Regions from separate parts of the Homo sapiens genome. Here region 1 is linked to region 2. The links are contacts of gene promoters, found by promoter capture Hi-C in human tissues and cell types (Jung and others, 2019). All regions are on one chromosome and are shown on one strand. The core of a region is centred on a gene start or on the middle of the fragment in contact, and the rest is flanking DNA. Distances in the headings are between cores, read along the strand shown. Region 1 has its middle 11 kb from the start of SELENOP. Region 2 holds the start of GHR (growth hormone receptor).

Region 1 (5,281 bases), core at 2,782-5,281, 400 kb before region 2:
TTTAACCAGTATTTCCCTGCCTCTTGTCCATATCATAATCACAGTGGCATAATGAAGTAAAGACTCATCCTTCGTCACATAATAACGTTCAGGAGTAGGCAGTCTGGGGCTGATACAAATGCGTGAGAAACCATCAAGTTTCTAGCTTCTTCTAACCTTCAGCTGCATCATGCTCAGTGTGTGTTTTTTAGCCCCATGGTTATAAAATGACTGGTCCACTTAAGGCATCGCACTGGCATCCCAGTAGAAAGACAACAAAAGCAACAAGTGCAAATAAATGGAAAACTTTCCTAAGATTTTCTAGCAGACTTCAGATTTCCACTCCATCTCGTTGGTTAGAACGATATCACATGGACACCCAGTGGCATAACTGGTTGAGAAATGAAGGCTTTTTGTTTTTCTTTCATCTGACAACATAGCTGCCTAAAAAGCTATGGAGTTGGATATTGGTGAAGAAGGAAGGAAATTGACATCAAATAGACATTTAGCAGTGCCACCACAGATGAGTACTACTATTATTCTCGTTTTGCCTGAGGAAACCTAGACATTGAGAGTTAAGTAACCTGCCCAAGGTCATCTAGTTAATATGTAGAAAAGCCGGATACAAACACAGGCAATCTGATTTCCAGAGCCTGAACTTTTAACTCTGTGCTAGGATTTGAATCTGAGAGTAGAAGGAAAGGCAATTTGTGACAGGAAGATAGTGTTAACAAAGGTGCAGTGCGTGTGTGCATGTGTACGTGTGTGCATGTGTACGTGTGCACATGTGTATGTGTGTACATGTGCATGCATGTACATTGGAACCCTAGATGCTGATCATGTGTGAGAGAGGCCCTGAGGCTGGAATAAAGGAGCCATGCTGAGGAGTGGAGGGAAGTCAGGTGGGAAGGAGATCTGGATTTATACCATCTGCCTGGGTAAGCCTTCAGGAACATGAACTGCGTCGGTCCTGAAATTGAAATAATGACAATATATATGCAAATATTGTCAAGAAGGCATGAGGAGATGCCAAATATGAGCAGAGCCAGAACCCAGGGTGTGGTAAATCAAAAGTTGAAGCTGGAACATCCTAAGAAGCAGTAGCCAAGGTTTGGTCCAGGATGTTCTGCAGTCAGATGTGTCCAGCAGTCAAAGATATATGAGCTGGAGGCCAGGGTCTGATGGTTTGGAGTTAGAGTTGGGGAATTAGAATCCTGGAATATTACATACCTAGGTTCTTGTTTGTTTTATGGCAGTACATCCCAGCACTTTAGGAATATTATTGGCCCATTACTTAGCACTAGTTTTTAACTCTTATAGTTAAACGCTGTAACATTTAAGAGGATAAGATGACCCCAGACTATGAGAGCACAAAAGAAACAGTTGTTTTCCATGGAAACATGTTACTTTTAAATATTAGCTTTACCTTTGTTATCTCACAGGGTAAGTGGAGTGGGAACATACAAAAATAGGTAGAATTAAAAAGGAAGGAGCTGTGCAAAGTGATGAACCACATCAGCTTTGGATTATATATTTTTCAGTGTCTTTGTTGAGTACAGAGCTTGCACCAAGAGATGTCAGATTAGTGTAAGGAGACCATTACTTAGAATATGTGAGGCTCAGCAAGAGAACATGGCCCCACTCTGAGTGGTGGGCTTTCTGACCTGGTAGTGTTCAAACAGAGGCTAGAAGATTGTTGAGGAGAGAGATTTCAAAATTGCTTTCTGGATAAAGTTTGACTAAAAGGATTTCAAATCTGCATTTCATAATTGTACAGTATGCCCATCTGAAATCGATCAGAATTGTAATCTCCAAAAAGCAATCTGAATCTGCAAAGCCTTTCCTATTGCTTGCAGACTCAGCAGCCCTGAGTCTGCTGCTAGTCAAGTAGTAGGAAAAGTTGTGCAAAGCCTTTGTCCTCCTCACTCTAGTTTCTTCTTTGTCCAGTTGAAAAAGACTAGCAAATGAGGTCTTTTGAAGAATAGTTATAATGACTATTCTCCAGCAACCACGAGAATGGAATTCAACTTAAGGTGTTATGCATTTATTTAAATGTACCAAGCCTCAGCATGCATGTGTCTAGCCTTTATATACATGCATATATAAATGTGTGTCTGTGTGTATATATATATATATATATTTGTATGTACATACACACTTATCCACATTTATGATGAAAAATAAATTCATGTTTATTGTTGCAGTTAAACTCTGGAGCTCTGAAACCATTGGGTTTGAATCCCAGCTCCTCTATCTTTTAGCTGTGAATATAGGTCAAGTTACTTAACATCTTCGTACCTATTTTCTCACAGGGTAAAGACTATTGTGATGATTAAATGTGTTATTTATTACCTATAAAAGACAGAATATGACTGGAATATAGTAAACATCCAATAAATGATAGCTATTATTATTCTAGACTTTCTAGAAAATACATAAAAATAAAAAGAAGAACTAAAAATCATGTTTATTCTGAAGGGGAACCACTGTTAATTCTGAGCATATCTTCCCAGTCTTTGTTCATGTGCTTGTCTTCTGTTTACTCTCACTCTGGAGTCATGCTCCAGGGCCTAGGTTTCCAATGCACATGCATGCACACATACACATGCACATACACAGAAATATACGTGCACACATGATTTTATGCTTCTTGTAAAAGTTAGAATATGTACCTTAAAGATTAGTATAGGGGAAAAGGGAAAACTTCCCCTTTGCCTTCCGAAGATTTGCAGAAAATCACTGATAAGATGCATATTAATAGGAGAAAAGGCATACATATTTATTAATGTGTACATGGGAGCCTTTAAAATTAAGACCCAAAGATACAGGGGAAATTGTCCATTTTTATGTTTAGGTTTAACAAAGTATGGGCAGCAAGTAGAAACATGATTGGACAAAAAATATGATCTAATGTTAATAGACTGAGTGGGGAAACTCAGAAAGGTCTGTCTGTCTAGATTTTTCTTCGCCTCTCTGAGCATGTATTCCTTTTTTTGGATATGGCACAGGGCCCTCTCTGGAATGGGGGTCTTATGACCTATAATCAAACAAGATAAGTCTAGTTATCTAATTTTTTAGTGGCCAGTTTTTGTGCAGTTATAGTGGAGGGAAAGTTAGAGTAAAATTTTTAGATTTTATGGCTGGCTTTGGGTAAAGGGGTTCTAGTTTCTATGACCCACCTTGAGTAAGACAGATTCTAGTTTTTATGGCTAGCCTTGAGAGAGAATGGGATTGAGAGATAGTAGGGTAGGAGAAGGTCAGAGAAAAATTTCTGTTTTGAGGCTGCTTCTGCGGCCTTCATTTTGGGTATGTTTTTCTGAGTCCCAACATTAGACAATCCTACACAAATATGTATTCAGGACTAAGGTCATGGCTTGTTTTAATAGTTATAACTCTTAAATGACAATTGAGTCATTTTTCAAAGAGAATAAATATTTTGCCATTTTTTCATTAATTCTCGGATCAGCGAAAGTATATATTCTAAATTTGATTGCTTTATTTAAATATTTATATTTTTCAGTTACATAAACATGGAAAACTGTAAAATAAAAATGAATGTCTTATTTACAAAATCTTTGCTTCAGTTAGAAAGGGAAAATGAGTATACACATTACAGACCATTCATAGAATAAAATAATGTGCATTTTAAAAAGAATGAGGTAACTCTATACACACTGACACAGAAGAATGTCTATGACGGGGAAAGATTTCCATGATGCTTAAATTAAAAGCATTGTGGAATAATAAATAGAGAATGACCGTCTTTATACATAGTGTTTTAAAATTTTTTTTAGCTCATCAGCTATTGTTAGTGTTAGCGTATTTTATGTGTGGCTCAAGACAATTATTTCAATCTGGCCTAGGGAAGCCAAAAGATTGGACACCCCTGGTCTAGGCAGTGCTGTGGTCAGGTTTGCTGAGTATTCTGTAGGTGGAATGTAAAATCCAAGATAATGCCTGTTGAACTTGCTGGAAAGTGCACCAACCTGATACTGATCCTATCTCCAGGCTGGGTTCAATGCTCCTGTCTTCATTTCCAAGTTTCCAACAGAATCTTGTGCTTACAGTCATCCTAGAGGGGATCAAGCTTTATACTTTGTTTTTTCTGCTTACTTGTCTGTCTACCCTATCAGATTTTGAGGTCCCTGAGAACAAGAAATACCATTTTTTGTTTTTATTTTTAAATCTCTGTAGTCCCAACATTTAGCATTGTGCCTAGCATAAGCAACCAACAAATGTTCCTTTGATTTGTTTGATTTAATGTAATTTTGTATAATACCGAGTTGGTGTTTGTTTGGAAATTCTGCTTTCTTGAAAATGCTGACTGGTGCCAGGTTGCCCAGCACAGAAGAGACTGTTAGGAATGGATCAATTTCTTTCTTTCTTTTCTTTTTTTGAGATGGAGTTTCTCTTGGCATCCAGGCTGGAGTGCAAGGGCATGATCTCTGCTCATTGCAACCTCTGCTTCCAGTTTCAAGCCATTCTCCTGCCTCAGCCTCCCGAGTAGCTGGGATTACAGGCACCCGCCACCACGCCTGGCTAATTTTTGTATTTTTTGTAGAGACGGGGTTTCACCATGTTGGCCAGGCTGATCTTGAACTCCTGACCTCAGGTGATCCACCCACCTTGGGCTCCCAAAGTGCTGCAATTACAGGTGTTAGGCACCACTCCCAGCCCATTTTATTATTATTATTATTTTCTTTTTTTAGAGGTGTGGTCTTGCTCTTTCACCCAGGCTGAAGTTCAGTGGTGCAATTGATAGAGACAGGAGACAGCCAAATGCTGCCCAGGTCATTGTGTACAGGAGGGTTGCCTAAAGATGCCCACAACCGACTAGGGGTCCCCTTGTGCACTGGGAGAATGGGGTGGAGCCACTGGGAATTCTCACCTTATGGAGTGGGGAGGAGCCCTGTCTCTTCAGCTCTTGTGTGGCGGGCTGGTATTCAATCTGTGAGGTGGAAGCCTGTTGGCAGGAACCCCCCATTTTAATTTTTTAATTTTTTTTTTGCTGAGAGCTTTCTTTTAATAAATTCCACTCTCCCTGCCTTCCAATGTGTCTGCATGCCTAATTTTTTCTGGTTGTGAGACAAGAACCTAGATTTTAGCTGAGCTAAGAAGCAAAAAATCCTGCATCACAATCATAGCTCATTGTATCCTCGAACTCCTGGGTGCAAGTGATCCCATCTCAACCTCCTGAGTAGCTGAGATTATAGGCATGAGACACCATGCCCTCTAAGAATAAATTCCTTTCAAACATTACAAGCTCCTCATCTTTTCCTTTTGTCACCTGAGGTTTTAGACA
Region 2 (5,060 bases), core at 1-2,500:
AGTTCTGTCAAAACTTTAAGCCTGGTTGATTTTACAACCACTAGTGTGTCAAAAGCTGGGGGAGGTCGGCTCGCCACAATTTCCACTTACCCCAGTTCATGCGGACTGGTGGCTGTCACTCTACTGACCCCAGTTCCATCGGTGCCAACGTGCGGCTGCGGCCCGCACAAACGCGCAAAAGACCGCGCGCTCTGCGCGCTGTGTCCACGCGCACAGCTCGACCTCCCCAGTCTCTCCAGTCGCGCTGCCGGGGATTCTTCCCCGCGCAACAGCAGCAGCCTCGGCAGTTCCTGCCGCAGCCAGGCAGATGATGGCAAACAGAAACACACTAGCAAAACTTTTATGACTTTAACAAAACTGTCTCCGGAGTAAACCCCTCCACGTACACTACTCGCGGGCCAGAGCAGACGCCAGAGTGTGATGGTTCGTCTGTCGCCCGCAACTCCCTGCCGCCCTCACCAACTTCCAGACACACACACACACACACACACACACACACACACACACACACACACACTAGATTGGGTTACAACAACCCACCAGCAGAAAACAACTTCTTCGCAAGGAGGAGGGGAGCACAGCCAAGTCATCCGGAATAAAAAATTATCCGTGTAAATATATAAGACAGATCCTCCCGTTTTCATAAACAACTAGAGTCCCAGGGTTCACCCTCAGGCCCCCTGGCACAACAGGAGGAAAATAAAGCCAGACTCCCGGAGCCCCACTCCAGTACCTCCGAGCTTCGCCTCTGATCAGAGAGCGCGGGTTCGCGTCTGCGCTGGGGCCAATGGTGCCGGGGCCTCCGGCCCGCGTGGCCCCAGCCCGGGGTCCCCGCCGCCGCCCGGGCTCAGCAGCAGCCGCCGCCGCCACCGCCACTGTAGCAGCTGCTGCTGCCGCTGCCGCCGCCGCCGCCGCTCCCTAGCCCTCCTCCTCTTCCCATGGCTGCGCCCTGCTTGGCAGCTCGCGGGCTGTCAGGCTTGGGGAGGAGAGAGGGGGCGGGGTGAAACGGGAAGGGAGGATGGGAGGGCAGGGGTGGGAAAAGGCGGCCACCGTTCACCAGGGGTCACGCCGCGCCTGGCCCGCAGTCCCCCAGATCCAGGTTGCAGAAGCGAAGGCGAAGCGGACGTTCAAGGAGGCCAGTTCGAGAACTGCTGCGGAGAGGCCGAGTGCCGCCCGGGCCAAGCATTCCGAGTTGCTGGGATGAAGTCTTCCCGGCGAGGAGCTGGAGTTGGTGCGTGTCACTCTCAACTGAGCTGCGCGGCTCCTCCTAGAGGAAAATATTGGTAGTTGCAATACACTTCCTTCCTCTCCGCCTGCCCGTTCCAAATGAAAGCAGGACCTACAAGAGCGTTAAGTGCAGTCCACAGACTCAAAGAAACACTTACAAAAAGGTTAGCTATCTCCAGGAATGAGAGGAAGATCAGCGAGATACCTTGGAAAGCGTGTTTAGCCATCCAAATATTGCCTTTCCATCAACAATCAAGTTCCAAACTCCTGCTCACTGGGGCACAGTGAAAAGATAGTTAAAACTACGAAGGACTTTATTGTGGAGGTTAGAAGACGGAGACAGAGAGAATGAGTAATTTACCAAGGACACTCAGCATGTTAGCAGAGAGGTATCTGCTAGAGGACAGGGATGCAGGGAGAGCAGACACAGGCCCCAGCCTGAAGTTCCTGAGCCAGGAAAAGGGTTTTAACTCTGCCTCACGCTGGACATAGCTCATCTGTCAAATGCGAGCCCTGCCTACTTCATTCACAAGAAGTTGTAAAAGTGTTGCAGAAAGTTAAAGTTGTGCATAAGCATGTCATTTTTGTACAGCATCAAACCCCAAGTCACTATATGCTTTTCTGAGTAGAGAGTACAAAAATCTAGCTCCAGGTTGTCTCAGATCTGAAGGAGTAGCTAGTCATGCAATCTTTCCACTATTTACTGACGGTCAATTGTAATGTCACTTACTTATAAGCTTCTAACAGCTTTGGCTTACTAAAGACTTTTTTTTTTTAACAGAGCTCCCAGACACAAACCCAAGTTTATACCCAGAAAGAAATGTTTAAACAACTTAAAGGAACCAAGTTTCTTTTCTTTAGAATAAAATATCTATAGGGCTTTGAAGTAGTACACGGGAGCCAAGACTTGAGAAGGAACAGAGGACCAAAGACTCTGGGATAGCAGATATCACATAAGATACCCCTATTTTCAAAGGAATCAGATAAGTGAAAAACTGTTCCTTAGAATGCTTTCAGAAGCTCAGCTGTGGCTCAAATACCCCAGCTGTTCCAGACAGACACCTAGAATGAACGAAAAAGGAAAGATTCTGGAAGGGGCGTGTTTTATCATGGGGTGGGATGGTTATTGATCCTGAACTGCTCTTGTTCTATGGCATCTAAAAATAAGGAGGCATTTAGTTCCCCTAAGACTCTTCCCCAAACCATTGATTTCTGGGGCTTCATACTTTGCTGGAGCAATAGTGGTGCTTGGCTGTGTCTGGAGCTTTTAAAAGGGGAGGTACCCATATAGAGAAACTTGGGAAAGTAAAAGATTAGGGCACAGTCAAGAAAAACTCCTGCTGGGTGGTCCATACCTGCCAAGCTGGCTGACAGGGTAGTCCTGGCAGGAGTAGAGACCAGACAGGCCTCAAATGCTGACTCCACGCCTGTCTGAAATGACCTTCCAAGTTGGACCTTCTTCAGAGCCTGGCACTACCAACCTCTCTGTTTATATCCTCTCTGTGCCTTCTCATCCTTTGCCCTTCTTCCCTGAGCTAGAGAATCTTGATCTAGTTTAGGAGGTGCCAGACGGAGTCATAAAAGATATTCTAAATTCTATTGTTTATGCTCTGAGATGAGCTCAGGGCCATACTTAAAAAAATAAGAATTGACTTCTTTTTTTTTTTAAATCTGGGTTCAGCAATATCCTCCATTCTGTGTGCCATGAAACTAGACTACTCTGGCTGCTGCTCTGTCTTTGATTTTTAAAAAGTCATCATGCACAGAAAACATAGGAAAAGACACCTCAGTTAATACTATAGAACTAGATATAAACCTGCAACTGACATGAAGGGCAGTCTTTATTTTTAAGCCTCGTAAGTAAAGGTCCTTCAATCTCATATATGACCAGGTATTGGTCCATAGTAGTATGTGCCTCTTTATATATTCCAAATTGTGAGGGAAAATGTAGCAGGTATTGAGTTGATTAATTTGTTATAAGTTAAGGCATGCCAGAGCACATTTACCTTCTGAAGAATGAAACTGCATTTGCTCATGGTTTCCACTCTGCTTGGAAGATCCTACTTTGTCCACCCAGAGAAATCCTTCTTAATCTTAAAGTTCCAATCAATTGTTTACTTTCTCTCTGAAGGTCTTCCTGACTATTCCCCAGGGTGGAATTAATTAATTCTCCCTGTATCAGCACCTTTATAGGCCTTTATATCTTCTTTTATTAAATATTGCAGTTTTGTTGACATGTCTGCTTTTCTCATTAATTAAGAGATTTCTGAGGGAGAAACTATATATTCTTAATATCTGTACCTGCAATGTCTAGGTTAGTGCCCAGTATTTACAGAGTTTATAAAGCGTCCAATAAATAATCAAATTGAATGAAAAGTTGTATCTCTTGGATTTATATCTCTAACCCAGATCTCTCCACAGAGCTCCAGGCTAACAACTGGGTATCTCCATTTGGATGTCTAACAGACCTCTGAAACTTGACATGTCCACATCTGAACTCTGGTTCTTTCTCCTTAAACATACTCCAATCACAGTGGGTGACATTTCCATCTCAGTAGATGGCAACTACTTCCTGCCAGTTACCCAGGCCACAAACCTTTGAAATCATCCTTACTTCTTCTCTGCCAATCACATTCCACATTCAAAACTCTGTCTATTTTCTTGGAGAGGTCCAGAGACACCTGGTCTGAACCACCAGAATTTCTCAGATTACTGCAGTAGTCTCTCAACTCAACTGGTCTGCTTGCTTTGACAAACCCCACCCCTAATCCCCAACCAACACCAACAACAACCCAAAGTATAAATTCAGTTGCCATAGTCATTCCTTTTAAAATTAATATCATGTCATTCCTCAGCTCAAAACCCTCCAATGGTTCCCCATTCAAATCAGAATAAAATTCAAAATGGCCCATGAGACCCTACGTGAGCTATGTACCTTTGCCCCACACCTCATCTCCCATGAATTTCCCCATCACTGGGTCATCCATTCTGCTCCCAGCACACCGGCCTCCCTGCTGTTTCTTAAGCAGGCCAGGCAGACTCCTAACTTGAAGGCTTTTTGCTGGCTTTTCTCTCTGATTTAAACACACTTCCACAAATATTCATTTGCTTCCTCCTACAGTTCCTTGAAGTCTTTACTCAGATATTGGCTAACTTATCTTGTCCAACCTATTTTACCTTATTATGGCCTTACCTTATTATGGCCCACCCTTCCCCAGTCTTTTATACATCCCCAGTAGGGCTTAGCAAAAAATATAAACTGCCTTGAAGACAATAGAAACAATTAGAAAATAATTCTGATTATATATATTCAAGTGCAGATATCTAGGTCAGATCGCCATCTCCCCAAACCATAAAACACCACAGTATAAACTTCCTAAATCTACAGTTATCTGAGGTTAGAGCATGGCTTTAGTCACTCTGTTGTACTATAAAATGCCAAAGCTTCTTCTCAAAACAAAACAAAAGAGGCCAAAACACTTAAAGTAGCATTTTATAGCTGTTTTGTTTTATAGCATTTGTAGTTGAAGAACATAGGATTGTTAGTCAGGAGCCTTGGGATCCTGTGTGGGTCCTCTGTGATTTTGGGTAAATTAGTTACTAATCTCACAATGACTCCATTTCTTGGCCTATAGAAGGAAGGGGTTGCTCTCTGAGATCATTCAGCTGTAAAATAAAGTATTAGATTGATATTTGTAAATCAAATTATGATATCAAACATTTGTGATAAATTCTAAATTTATTTGAATAATATTTGACCAAATGTCCGGGTACCATGCCCTAGCAAAGTTGACACATTGAGATGGTTAATTTTATGTGTCAATTTTGCTAGA

The links. Contacts are between HindIII fragments. The study calls those that stand out against the background at their distance.
Region 1: a fragment that was not itself captured here is called in contact with the fragment with the promoter of GHR in region 2 in 1 of the 25 tissues and cell types used here (heart left ventricle).

Annotation. Positions count from the first base shown.
Region 1 is chr5:42,820,005-42,825,285 of GRCh38, reverse strand. No RefSeq gene overlaps it. Among named protein-coding and RNA genes, the nearest start is that of SELENOP, 11 kb to the right of the region's middle. The HindIII fragment of the contact is 6,385 bases long and covers 839-5,281 here.
Region 2 is chr5:42,419,629-42,424,688 of GRCh38, reverse strand. It overlaps GHR (growth hormone receptor), which reads right to left and starts at 1,250. Exons shown (of 10, transcript NM_000163.5): 1 at 734-1,250. RefSeq lists promoters at 1-45, 210-557, 210-978, 1,176-1,276, 886-1,458 and 1 more, cis regulatory regions at 1,081-1,121, 1,459-1,967 and an enhancer at 1,105-1,254. The HindIII fragment of the contact is 10,174 bases long and covers 1-3,318 here.